Linked DNA regions of Homo sapiens: region 1 is linked to region 2. The links are contacts of gene promoters, found by promoter capture Hi-C in human tissues and cell types (Jung and others, 2019). All regions are on one chromosome and are shown on one strand. The core of a region is centred on a gene start or on the middle of the fragment in contact, and the rest is flanking DNA. Distances in the headings are between cores, read along the strand shown. Region 1 has its middle 8.3 kb from the start of SEPTIN8. Region 2 holds the start of KIF3A (kinesin family member 3A).

Region 1 (6,974 bases), core at 1,494-3,993, 47 kb after region 2:
CAGCAGGGAGAAGAGCTTACTGACGTCTCCCCACTGTTTGAGACCCTATTTTTCCCTCTGAGCTAAGCAGAAGGCTGAGTATTTAGGTTCTCTACACTTTTTGGTAGTCTGGATGGGACAGCTGAGCTGAAGCAGCCTGTGGTCTTTGTTGGAATGCCTCAGCATGCTCCTGTCCTGAGAGCCTTTTTAATGTCCTGTACGGGCTCATGCCACCTAACTGGGGTGGAAAGCAGGACTCTATACACCTTTTCTGAGGAAGGGGCAGAACTCAGGATCAGTTTCCCCATGGGGAGTGTTGTTCTGGAGACTTTATTTCCATCAGCCAAGTCAGCTTGGTGGCTCGTGCTCCCTGCTTCCCCATCTCCCCCCGGCATGCTTTTTAATACAGCTCATTCAGAAGAGGAAGAAGACAGGGCATGACTCACATCTGCTTCCTTTCAGATTCAGGAGCCATAGGAAGAATGTTCAGGTTTTGGTCCATTTCTGGGCACTCGGGACAGGGTAGGGAGCAGAGACGTGTGGTGCCATTCCTTGCCACTCCAGAATCCTCTACGTCTTTCTTTAGATGTCAATTTGGAAGTTTATTGTGTTGGTTGCTGATAATAGATTTTACTCCCTTGTTTTATTTACTTTCTTTGATTTTGTTAGGAATTGAGAAAGAGAAGTTCTGTGGGGAAGCATTCATCCATAATCTGTAAGCAGCAGTGTCCCTACACATTTTTATTTTTATTATTTATCAATTTATTGAGACAGAGTCTCGCTCTGTTGCCCAGGCTGGAGTGCAGTGGCTTGAGCTCGGCTCACTGCAACCTCTGCCTCCCAGATTCAAGCAATTCTTCTGCCTCAGCCTCCCGAGTAGCTGGGATTACAGGCACCCGCCACCATGCCCAGCTAATTTTTGTATTTTTAATAGAGACGGGGTTTCACCATGTTCACCAGGCTGGTCTTGAGCTCCTGATCTCAAGTGATCTGCCCACCTTGGCCTCCCAAAGTGCTGGGATTACAGGCGTGAGCCACCATGCCTGGCTTTCTGCACATTTTTAAAGCAGCACATGTTACTTCTGGCTTTGAGGTCTGACTTGTCCCAATGACTGCCGAAACAATACAAAACAAGAACAGACTCGAAGAGCCTACTGAATTCCAAAGTCCCGAGATGTCTCAGCTGGCAGGCAAACTCTCCCATTTTGAAAACCAGAATTCTTAAAAGCCAGATTGAGGAATTACAGTCTCATGGCAGTGCTGCCAGGTTGAGGCCTAGATCAGGAGTCCTGGCCTGATGGAAAAGTTAGCCTAGAGAGAAGGAACAATTTTCTTATGCGTGCCAGAAAGATTGGCAAGAGTTTGTACTGAGGCTGGGTACAGGGAGCCATGTGGCACAGAAGGAACAGCCAGCAGAAAGCAGCCCTTCCCTGGCCTCATGGGTTTATAGCTGTCCTGTGCCTCGGAATTCCACAGTGTACCCTCATGCTGCAGGATGCCTCCCTGCCTTCTACCAGAGCATTTAGCATGGATGTCCTGGAGACAGAGCACCAGGGACACCTTGGAAAGCCCTGGAAATGAGAATCTCTGCCTTTTTTCATAGAAGAGGCACGCCTAGCCCATGAGTCCCTGGGTTCCCTGAGACAGTCCTGAATCCAGGGTTCTCAGGGATGCAGCCAGGTTTTGTGGAGCCTAAAGCTTGTGGGATTTGGAAGGCTTTCTTTTAGGAAAAGAATACACTGGCATGGCATGGTGGCTCACATGTGTAATCCCAGCACTTTGGGATGCCATGGTGGGAGGATTGCTTGAGCCCAGGGGTTCCAGACCAGCCTGGGCGACATAGTGAGACCCCCATCTCTATGAAAAATTAAAAACTTAGCCGGGTGTGGTGGCACAGGTCTGTAGCCCCAGCTACTTGGGAGGCTGAGGTGGGAGGATCACTTGAGCCCAGGAGATCCAGGCTGCAGCAAGCTGAGATTTCGCCGCTGCACTCCAGCCAGGGTGGCAAAGCGAGACCCCGTCTCAAAAAAAAATTTTTTTTTAATTTAAAAGAATACACAGTTATAAAGACAAAATTAGATATGGACGTAATTACTTATTTAGAATGAGAAAAGAACAGGACTTAGAAGGGACACAAGCAAGTGAGTGACCTGGAAATGTAAGCCTCAAGTTTCATGAGGTCCAGGGTGCCCTCAGGGAATGGGCCAGAGACACCCACAGGTCTCCAGTCCCTGAGTCCACAGGGATCCCTGCAGCAACTCTATGGTCCAGAACTGCCAGCAGGGGAGCAGACCCCACTCCAAGCCTGGCCCAGAGGGTCTAAGGACAGGGCATTGACAGCAGCTTTACAAGGAGCTCCACGAAACTTATTCAAAGATTCTGCCCATGGCCTCCCCTAGAACCCTGGGCCTCTCCCAGGTGGAAGCATTCTGCTCTTTTAACGTAGTTGTGGCCAAAAAGAATTCTCTGGGCCAGGTGCAGTGGCTCATACTTGTAATCCTAGCACTTTCAGAGGCCAAGGCAGAAAGATGGCTTGAGCCCAGGAGTTCTAGACCAGCCCAGAAGACATAAAGATATCTCATCTCTACTAAAAATTTTAAAAATTAGCTGGGTATAGTGGTGAACTCCTGTAGCCACAGCTACTCAAGAAGCTGAGGCAGGAGAATCACTTGAGCCTGAGAGATTGAAACAGAAGTGAGCTATGATCAAGCCACTGCACTCCAGCCTGGGTACAGGGTGAGACCCTGTCTCTTAAAAAAAAAAAAAAAAAAAAGGGGGGCCGGGCACGGTGATTCATGGATGTAATCCCAGCACTTCTGGAGGCTGAGGTAGGCAGATCACCTGAGATCGGGAGTTTGGGACCAGCTTGGCCAATATGGCAAAACCCCATCTCTACTAAAAATACAAAATTAGCTGGGCATGGTGGTGTGCACCTGTAATCCCAGCTACTCTGGAGGCTGAGGCAGGAGAATTGCTTGAACCTGGGAGGTGGAGGTTGCAGTGAGCATGGATCCCGCCACTGCACTCCAGCCTGGTGACAGAGTGAAACTCCATCTTAAAAAGAAAAAAAATTATCTGGAAAAAAAATATGTCAACTGTCCCGTAACCAAACAGCTACAATCTATAGAAGTGGAGGACTTCAAGATGCTCCCATTACAGAGAGGCCACCCAGCTCCAGCTCATATCACCATGGTCTCCATCTCTGCAGCCATGAACAGGTGGGATACAAGCAGGTGAGAGGAAGCCCCACATGGTGACACCACTAGGCAAAGATGAGGAAGTTAAAGTGTTTTGCTTTTTTGGAAAAATGTGACCTTCAGAGGGCATGAGGGAAGTGCAGAGAGAGAAAGAATGCTTCATGCTGTTTAAGGTGCTAGAAGAAGCCATCAGGAAAGGAGACAGTTAACTAAGGACAGGCAAATCAGCAAGGCAAGATTTAAAACGAGAGGGGTCTGCAGAGCAATGCTTTTCAAACTGGGTCAAAAGGGGCCATGGGGGACAAACACTCATCTGGTGGAGCTCTACAACCTCCCCAAACAGCGCCATCCCGCCTGCTTCATATATAAGGCTTTCATTTCAACAAAGGGTTTTTCCGCAGCTAAAAATAAGTCTGACAAACCACCTCTCTGGGGGAAATGTATTCAGACAGACAAAATGGGTCTGGAAAAGGCTGCTGCTGGGAGGAATCCAGGGAAACCACTGAGTCCGAGTTCAGACAGCTGAGAGGTAGAGTTTTACCTAGAACCAAGGGGCTGGCCAGGGAGATTGGAAGAAAGGATTCAAGGGAGCTAAGAGAAATTACTCTAAGTTGAATTAGAAGTAGAAATGACGGTAAATTCACAATAAAGAAAACACACACCACAAGGCTGAGGCCATCTGACTGGGGAATGAAAATGGAGAAAGCTAAGGACCTGATTAACATACAGAATCCAGTCTAGATGAACTCATGAACAAGAGGCCAAGGCCCAGCACTCATCTGCTTGGTTCATATCACCTGTTTATTAAGTGTTCCTTGCCTGCTGGGGTGGGGAGCAGGGGGGCTGGATTGTGAAGGAGTGGTAACCAGGCAGAAGCCTTTGGGGAAGTGGAAGAAGGTTGAACGGAATACACCTCCATTCACGGCAGAACTTCTGCTGCAGGACTTGGGACTTGTTGATCCAGGACCTAGCGCAGTATGGGTTATGGGACCCATACCCACAGGCAAGATGGTATGGTGGTCAGAATAGTGGCCCCCCACAAGACGTCCACTTCCTAATCCCCACAGCCTGTGAATATCTTACCTTACATGGCAAAGGGCATTTTGCAAATATGATTGAATTGAGGATTTTTAAATGGAGAGATTATCCCTGATTATTCAGGTGGGCCCAGTGAAATCCCAAGGGCCCTTGTAATAGGGCTGCGCTATAATAGGGAAGCAGAAGAGTCGGAGAAGGAGATGTGATGAGAGAAGCAGAGATCAGAGTGATGCAGCCACCAGCCAAGGAATTTGGGCAGCTTCTAGACCGGAAAATGGCAAGGAAACGAATTCTACCCTACAGCCTCTAGAAGGAGCATAGTCCTGCCAATACCCCGATTTCAGCCCAGGAAGACTGTGGGACTGCTGACCTCCAGAACTGTAAGACAATGAATTTGTGCTGTTTTAAGCCACAACGTTTGTGGCAGCAATAGAACCCTAATACAAATGGCACTGTGTCTAAGGGTGTGCTCTCTGAACTCAGTTGTCTGAATTCTAATTCCAGGGCCATCACTTGCCAGCTGAGGGATCTCAGGTAAGTAAACTTATATTCTGTGCTCAGTTTCCTCATGTGCAAAATGAGGATAATAATAATTTCTGCCTCATATGGTTATTGTGAGGATTACATGTGAAGTGCTTAAAACTATTTCTGACACAGAGGAAGCTTTTCAATAAATGTTAACTGCTGCTAATATTATTATTATAATAAATTACCATCACAAGATTTATTTCCACCACCCTGCTTTCACCTTCCCAACCCTGGACCCAGAAATGAAGCTTGATCAGAAGATGAAGGACAAGTTCAATGTCACAGCTGTTAAGACTAGGCACCAGCATCCATCATTCACTCACTCAACAAAGTATTTGTTGAGTGTCTGTTATGTGCCAGCCACTGGTTCAGATGTGGAAGACACAGGAAGAGAGGAAAGGGGACAAAAGTCTTCTTCCTTGCATTGCTCTTCCTTTCATCAAGGAAGAAAATCTTTCCAGATCCCCCACTAAAAATGCCCCCTGAGATCTCAGTGACCAGAACTGAGTCATTTGACCACACAGAATATAAAGGATTGCCAAAGGTTGGCCTGGACTAATGGAATGTGTGTTGGCTGTATTACTGAGAATATTTAAATTTACTGTAGCAGGCAAGAAAAAACAAAAAACAGTAGGCAAAATTCAAAAGCTGTGTTAAGAATAGATGGTAAGTTGGTAACTTGAGAGACACGCTAGACATAGAATACATGAAACATATGGGTGTCAGGCTTAGATTTAAAAGGATAGAACACACAAGAGTATTACTTGGAGATAGAAAGGGATGGAAACCCCCAGTTATAAGGCAAGGATCATGCTAATTCCAGATGGACAACTGTCATCCTCAAATTGGTCCCCTTAGAGACTCCCACTTTGATCCCATCCTGGTCCCTCCTGTACTCTTTCCCAGCTGCTTGGCAGGTAAATTATATGCTATGGGTCTAGCCAGTGTATTTGCCCCTAGGCTTCTTTGATAAAGCCTGTTAGCTCTAGGCACCTTGTTTGCTGAGCCCCTTTGTTCAACCTTAACTCTTGTTTTCTTTTATCTTTCTCACTTTACTTATTTATTTATTTTTTTTCAGACAGGGTTTCCATCAGTCGCCCAGGCTGGGGTGCGGTGATGTGATCACAGCTCACTGCTGCAGACTCGACCTCCTGGGCTTAATCAATCCTCCCTTCTCAGCCTTCCAAGTAGCTGGGACTACAGGTGTGTGCACCAGGCCTGGCTAATTTGTATCTTTTTGGTAGAGAGGAAGTTTCACCATGTTGCCTAGGCTGGTCTCTAACTCCTGGGCCCAAGCAGTCCTCCCACCTCGGCCTGCCAAAGTGCTGGGATAACAGGTGTGAGCCACCGCACCCAGCTAACTCTTATTTTCTTGTTTTCATAATCACATTGTCAGTGTGGACAGATAATGGGGGAGAGGGAGAGAGAGAGAGAGAGAGAGAGAGAGAGAGAGAGAGAGAGAGAGAGAGAGAGAGACAGGGGTTGGGGGGAATATAGAGGGATAGTATGTGAACCCTGGAACACAGGATTCAGGCAGTATGCTCCCTCCAACTTGCTTACCCCATACCCTAACTGGGTTAACCTACCCCACCTCTTTCCCCTAGCTTCTCACTGTACGCTTTAAATTGGATCAATAAGCAGGGTGACTTAAGTATCTTAAATTGGTCTGTGAGTCTTTCTGTTCATGATCTCCAGACAGCTTACCTGACAGGGTACTTGGAAGCTACATTGCATTAAGATAATTTCCCACATGACAAAACAATGATTTGCCTCTAGGGCTGGGCACATTGCTATCTGAAAAAACTGGAGTCTGTTAGAAAAGAAAGAGAATGGCTGTTGGGTAGGTGCCTGAAGGCACAAGAGTTCACTTAGTCTGGCCTTCTGACTCCAGGTCAGGCAGGCTGAGTTCATTTTAGATAAAGGAAAGTGTCTGTTTTTCTGGTGAATTATGGATTTGGGGCCTGTAGAATTTGTTCTTATCTGTGAAGTCCCACTTGGAGGGGAGGGGAAGGGCTGGCTCACTTCTCAGGATCCTGCTGGCCCAGGTTATGACTATAGAAGTTCCTCAACAATTGAACACTGGGGTCATTTACACAACAAAGATTTACTGAGCGCTTACAGTGTGCCATGGGCATGAAGGTAAAGAAGGCATGGATGCTGCCTGCCAGAGTTCAGAGTTCAACAGGCAAGCACACATAAAAAGTATTAATTAAAATAATACACAGACCAACT
Region 2 (6,934 bases), core at 3,437-5,936:
GATCACGCCACTGCAATCCAGCCTGGGCGACAGAGCAAGACTCCGTCTCCAAAAAAAAAAAAAAAGTAATGAATTGCTGATATATGTTTATATGTTACAATAGGGATGAAGCTTGAAAACACTGTAAGTGAAAGAAGTTATTCACAAAAGGCCACATAGCATATAATTCCATTTATAGAAAATGTCCAGAATAGGCAAACTCATAGAATAGATATAGACAGTAAATTAGTAGTTGCTGGGTTGGGGGAAGGGAGGTGGTAATGGATTGGGAGTGACTGACTGCTAATGGATACAGGGTTTCTTTTTGGAGTGATAGAAATGTTCTGGAAACAGACAGCGGTGACAGCTGTACGACATTGTAAATGTACCTATGAACTATAAAGTGTAAAATGGTTAAAATCATAAATTTGATATTTGAATTTTATCACAAAAGCTACCTAAAGAAATCAATTTCATCTCTATATATTAGTAACACACAATCCAAAATTGAAATTATGAAAGCAATCCTATTCACAATAGCATCAAAAAAATACTTAGGAATAAATTAATCAAAACAAGTGCAATACTTGTACACTAAAAGCTACAAAATACAGATGAGAGAAATTAAGATATAAATAAATGGAGAGAAGCTGGACATGGTAGCTGACATGGGAAATCCCAGGGCTTTGAAAGGCCTCAGTAGGAGATTGCTTGAGCCTAGGAGTTCAAGACCTGACTGAGCAACACAGCAAGACCCAGTCTTTACAAAAACAAAAAAATGAGCCAGGTGTGGTGGCGCACAGCTGTAGTTCTCATTACTCAGGAGGCAGAAGTGAGAGGATAGCTTCAGCCCAGGTTCAAGGCTGCAGTAAGCTATGACTGCACCACTGCACTCCAGCCTGGGCAACAGAGCAAGACCCTGTCCATAATTCATTAATGTTTCAACGTTTTAAATGAAGAGAAGTATCATGTTCATGGACTGAAGACTCAATATTGTCAGAATGACAATTCAACACAATCCCTATGAAAATCCTAGCAGGATAAACTTCAAAAACATTATTTGATGTGAAAGAAAACAGATAAAAAAGGTGACATATTATATGACATCATTTATATGACATTTCAAGAAAAGGCAAAATTATAGTGACAGAAAGCAGATCAATAGTTGCTTGGGGGTGGGTCTGCAAATGGGCATAAAGGAAATTTTGAGGATGACAAGGGTGTTCTAAAGCTGGATTGTGATGATGGTTTCACAACTGTATATATTTACTACACTCATCAAACTGCACAGCTGCAATATGTGAATTTATGGCACAGTAATTATGTCTCAATAAGGGAGTTTTTTAAAAAGTAAAGATTCACTTACCATTGTAGCCTTCAAGTACAGAATCAATAATAGGTCTTGCAGTTAAGTTATAAACATCAAGTTGTTTACTCTCTGGTCCAAAAACAGTATCAAAAGTAAATGTCTTTGGAGGTTCATTGGAAGAATCAGTCTTATGTACAGTGATAGTTCCCCTCATCTCATCCACACTGACAGCCTGTTTGTAGCACATTGATTTCTCTCTCTCATTGAGGGGCCGGCACCTAACAACAACCTTCACATTATCGCAGCTTTCTGGCTTCTCTGATTTATTGATCTGTTGGAGATAATATTTACAAATAATGAAAAGAACATTAATTTTTACCCTCATCAGATTAAATTTATAAACTTTAAAAGGCTACTTTTCCAACTCAGTGCCTTGCACACATTAAACACTTCACAGGTATTTGTTAAATGCAATTAAAGATCTTACATATAGCTGAAAAGTTTATTAAAAGATACAAAAAGGAAAATCGTTTCTTTTAAAATGTAAAAGGGAGAGAAGAGCTAGTTCACATTTGTGGCAAAGGCTGTACAAGCAGAAACTGAACCAGTATATTATAGATCATCTTTTTGCACAAAAGTCTCTGACCCAGCGTTTCCTGCCTGTAGGAAAACACATGTGAACATGGTTAACAACTTTAACTCAAGAAAATAGTAGGTCCTTTGTTTCCCCTGAGACTTTAGTTTTATTTCCTATCACGCATCTGTAAAATGGTTTTTATCATGTAATATATCCATATATGGCTTATCTTCTCTACAGAAAACAATAATAAGATAAAGACAGAAATGAAAGTCTAATGGCAAAGAAAAATGCCTTAGTATTACCTAACCTTATAAGCATTTGTATATGTAAAGTTTCCATTTCTGAATTTTTTTTTTCTTATTTATGAGGCACAGTCTCACCCTGTCACCCAGGCTGGAGTGCAGTGGCGTGATCTCAGCTCACTGCAACCTCTGCCTCCCAGGCTCAAGCGATTCTGCTGCCTCAGCCTCCCCAGCAGCTAGGATTACAGGCGTCCATCACCATGCCCAGCTAATTTTTGTATTTTTAGTAGAGACGGAATTTCATCATGTTGGCCAGGCTGGTCTCGAACTCCTGACCGCAAGTGATCCACCCACCTCGGCCTCCCAAAGTGCTGAGATTACAGGCATGTGCCACCGCACCCCGTCATTTCTGAAATTTTATGATTAAGAAAATATAATGAAACACAATCCTATTATTGAAGTGAAAAGGACAGTTTAGTTGAACAGATACTTGTTAAATTCCTACTGTTTCAGATTCTCTTCTAAGCATTGAAGAGAAACAAATATGAGTCATTGTCATTGACTCTGACATTGTCACTGACAAGTAACAGATTATATCAGTACAATACACTTCTATCTATCTCTCATCCTATTCCTCTCATCTATTCATCACCCTAGTCTAAATCACCATCATCTTGGCCCTGGATTACTGCCTCCTAACTATACTCCTGAATCTAATCAGATTGCCCTACTGCCTATTCTCCAAATAGCAGTCAGTGTCAACACACATCTAATCATGTCACTCTCCTACTTAAAAATTCTTCAGTGGTTTCCCATAGATCTCAGAACAAAAACCAGAATCCTTAAGGTGGTCTGTAAGGTCTGGCTTCCACCCACGTCTGCTTCACTGGGCTTATTTCACAAGATATTCTGCCTGGCTCATCCATGCCACAGCCACACTGAGCTGCTTGGCCTTTTCTTGTCACCATGCTCCTCACCACTGGCCTTTCCATGTGCTGTTCCTTCTACCTAGAACCATCTTCAATCCCCTCTTCACTTAGTTAACATCTACTTATCCTTCAGAACTCAACAGCCACTTCACCTGGGAAGACTTCCTGACTAGGTCAAATACTCTTATAGGCTCAGAGAGCACCCTGCTCTCCCCTTCCTGGACACAAATTTTACTTTTGCTTGTTCCTTATTTGATTAATGTCTTTCTGTCTACACCAGAGGTTGCAAACAGGTAGTCAAGAGGCTGAATTCAGCCCACAAATTTCTTTTGTTTGGTTCATAGTATTTAAAGAGCTTTTGAATTAGTTGCTAAAATTGAGAAATTTCACAAAAATAATTTCTAAAGTCTCTTCTTGGGAGGAAAAAAAATGACCTGTTATCATCTGCAGACCATCATTCTTACATGGCAATACATTCCAATTCACCAGAATCTACTTCTCTCTATTGTAGGATACCCACCCACTTCATTATTAAGGTTTTGTGTCTTACGTCTGTAAATATGTATGATTTTCACCTCTGCCCAAGAAGGCAAGCCTCTCTCTTTCCAAGTTCAAGAACCTGACTGGTGTTGCTCAATGTTGTATCTTCAGGGCCTAGCATGTGGTTGGTGCCCAATATTTACTGAATTAAAACTTGAAAGCAGTGAACAGAACAAATATAGAGCATTTAATCTTAAATGTCAAGCACTGTCCTTCTAGTCTCCTGTGTATTATTTCACGCGGATAACAACCCCATGAGGTAAAGTTTACATGGGAACTAAGGACCCAGACAGATTAAATAATTATCCGAGGCCTCACAACCACTAAATAAGCGGCCATGGCTCAATTTTCCTCCATGACCCCTAATAAGGGGTCTTAGAAGGCCCCATTATTAAGTTCACGATAACAATCTGTGAAATCCTGGAAGATAAACATAACACCGCCACACACACAAAGACACCTACGGGTTTCATTCTGCATCATAAGCTAAAGCGCCACAAGAGCAATGACAGCTCAAGGCTAGGAGACTCGGAGTATGGGGCCTGGAATAGGGGCAGGCAGCCTTCGCTCCGCTGCCTCCCTGCGCTTGCTCCGAGGCGCAAAGGCCTCACCAGGTGTGCAGCATCCAAAGAGCCCCACCGTGGCCACCCCCAGACGCCCCGCTCAGCAGGAAGGGCTGCGAGCCAGAGCGCATCCTCCAGCACAGCGCCTTTTTGATAAGCGGCGCAGGCCCCACGGGATGCAGCAGCGACGAGGGCGGCAGGGCCTGACCCCAGGTCCCTGTCGAGGCCGGCCGGACCCCCGCGGCCCCGGGGCTGACCAGCCAGGCTCTCCAACCACCTCCACCGCACGACCGAGCCTGCCCCGCCCCACCCAGGCCGCCTGCCGGCTCCGCGCCTCCATGGCAACGGCCGCGCCCCCGGGCCAGGCCGCTAGGATGAGAAGAAACCCCAGAAGCGAAGCGACTCTCCTCACCGGCATCTTGGCCCCCTCCCGTGCCCGGCGGACGTCCCCGCCCGGGGTGCAGCCCAGCGACACCGGGTGCGCAGAAAGGATGGCCAGAGACTACCGAAACACCTCGTTGACGCTCTCGAGACTGCGGCTTCTCGGGCGAGAGCGCCCAGTGCGCAGCCGCATTCCGAGCTCGCCCCGCCCCAAGCCCAGTCTCAGGCTCTCTCGGCCCTTGAATTACGCCTGCGCGGAGGCTTTCCGAGTCCATCTCCTAGGACGCCAGACTGAGGCCGCGCGTGCGCAATGCTGCCATTCTGCTGCGCTAGAAATGTGGCACGCACTGAGGCGGAGGTAACCTGGCAGCCCGGGGTTGGGAGGAGGAGCTGCTCTTAGGCCCGTCTTCTGGCCCTTGCAATACCCGGAATATTAAAATCAGTAATAGCAATTGTACATTTTGTCTCATCCGAAGAATTGAAGACCTTACCTACCTGACCTCGCTTGATTGCTAACTTCCTCATGACCTGTCTTACCATTAGAAAGTGAGCTCTCTTAAGGAGATTGTTAGTATTCTCACATCTATCTCCAGAGCCCACACAGAGCCTGGCACAGAGTGGGATTTTTATACGTGTTGGTCAAAGAACCAGTGATCCGTCCATCCTCTTTCTAGTCCACTTGAATGTGTAATGGGCATTTCAAGTTAATCATGTCCAGAATTGAAATCTTGATCCCCCATCAATCGCCCCACTACCCACTCCACCCCCATCAAAAAATTTAAAAGGGCTCTCTCTCATCCCTCTCAGACTTTCTTCATCTCAATATGTGGGAGCTTAATTCCGACAACTGCTCAGGTCAAAATTGCAGTCTCTTTCATACACAATATTCTATCTTTAAATACAGCCTGTTGTATCTATCTTTGTAGTGGAACCAGAATTTGGCCACTTCTACCACCACCATCGTCTCTCACGTGCATTACTACAATCGCTCAGAACTGGTTTCCTTGATTGTGTGTCCTTGTCCCTTTTCAGTGTGCTGGACAGGAGCCAGAGTGCTGGTGCTAAAACATGAATCAGATCTTCTCTTTTCTCTGCTCAAAACCCTCCATTGATTTCCCATCTTACAAAGCTAAAGCCACAAGCCCTACAATCCTCCCTCTTGCTTCTTCTGCACCAGCCCCACCTGGCCTCCTTGCTTCATCCAACATTCCCGTCGTGCTTCCATCTTAGCATGCAAGGGCTGTGAGCTTGCAGTAGGAACTGATAGAAATAAAGATAAAGCATTTTACATAGTGCCAGTGTACTGTTCTACATGCTTTCGTTTTTTAATTCATTTAATCCACACAATAACCTTTTGAAATAGATACTATTTATTATTATTTTACAGATAAAGTAATTGAGGCACAGGACCATTAAATAACTTTTCCAAGGTCATACATATAAACAATGGCAGAGCCCAGGTCCAAACCCAGGCAGCCTAGACAGCTCTTTCCCTAAAAAACCACCTGACCACTCACCTCCTCCAGAAAGTCTTTGTTCACATAACCCCAGTGAACCCTAACATGATTTCCTTATTTAAAATTTCAACCTTCAGCCCAAACTCTTCTTTTTTTCCCTCCCCACTTTATATTTCTCCATAGTACCTATCACCATTCAATATTTTATATATACACACATACAAGCTTTACTGAGATATAATTTACACACCATACCATACAATCACCGATTTAAATTGTACAAGTCAATAGTTCTTACTATATATGGAGTTGTGCAACCATAACCTAGAACATTTTTATCATTCCAAAAAGACATTCTGTACTCATAAGCCACTCCCCCTTGCTCTCTGCAACCCTCCTCCCACCCCACTCCCAACATCCCAGACCTAGACAACCCACCAATCTACTTTCTATCTCTGTGGATTTGCCTATTCTGGACATTTCATATAAATGAAATTACACAATATGCAGCCTTTTGTGAGTAACTTCTTTCACTTACAAAGTTTTCAAGCTGTATCCCTATTATAGCATATATCAGCAATTTGTTACTTTTTATGGCTGAATAATATTCCATTGCATGGCTATAACATGTTTTTTTACCTATTTGTCATTGATGGATATTTGGGTTGTTTCTACTTTTTGCCTATCGTGAATAATGCTGCTACAAGTTTTTGTATGAGCCTATGTTTTCATTCCTCTTGGTTACATATGTAGAAGTAGAATTGCTGGATCATTTGGTAATGCTAATGTTTAACATTTTGAGGAACTGCCAAGTTGTTTTCCACAGTAGTGCACCATTTTAAATTCCCACCAGTAACATGTAAAGTTTACAATTTCTCCACATCCTTGCCAACACTCACTTTTGTGTAAAGTAGTATCTTGCTGGAGTATTTATTTATTTTCATTTCCCTGATC

Evidence for each region. Contacts are between HindIII fragments. The study calls those that stand out against the background at their distance.
Region 1: a contact is called between a fragment that was not itself captured here and the fragment with the promoter of KIF3A in region 2, in 3 of the 25 tissues and cell types used here (lymphoblastoid cells, neural progenitor cells and thymus).

Annotation. Positions count from the first base shown.
Region 1 is chr5:132,782,006-132,788,979 of GRCh38, forward strand. No RefSeq gene overlaps it. Among named protein-coding and RNA genes, the nearest start is that of SEPTIN8, 8.3 kb to the left of the region's middle. The HindIII fragment of the contact is 4,380 bases long and covers 554-4,933 here.
Region 2 is chr5:132,732,860-132,739,793 of GRCh38, forward strand. It overlaps KIF3A (kinesin family member 3A), which reads right to left and starts at 4,687. Exons shown (of 19, transcript NM_001300791.2): 1 at 4,555-4,687; 2 at 1,346-1,619. The coding sequence starts at 4,560. RefSeq lists an enhancer at 3,992-4,091 and a silencer at 4,242-4,551. The HindIII fragment of the contact is 7,994 bases long and covers 3,159-6,934 here.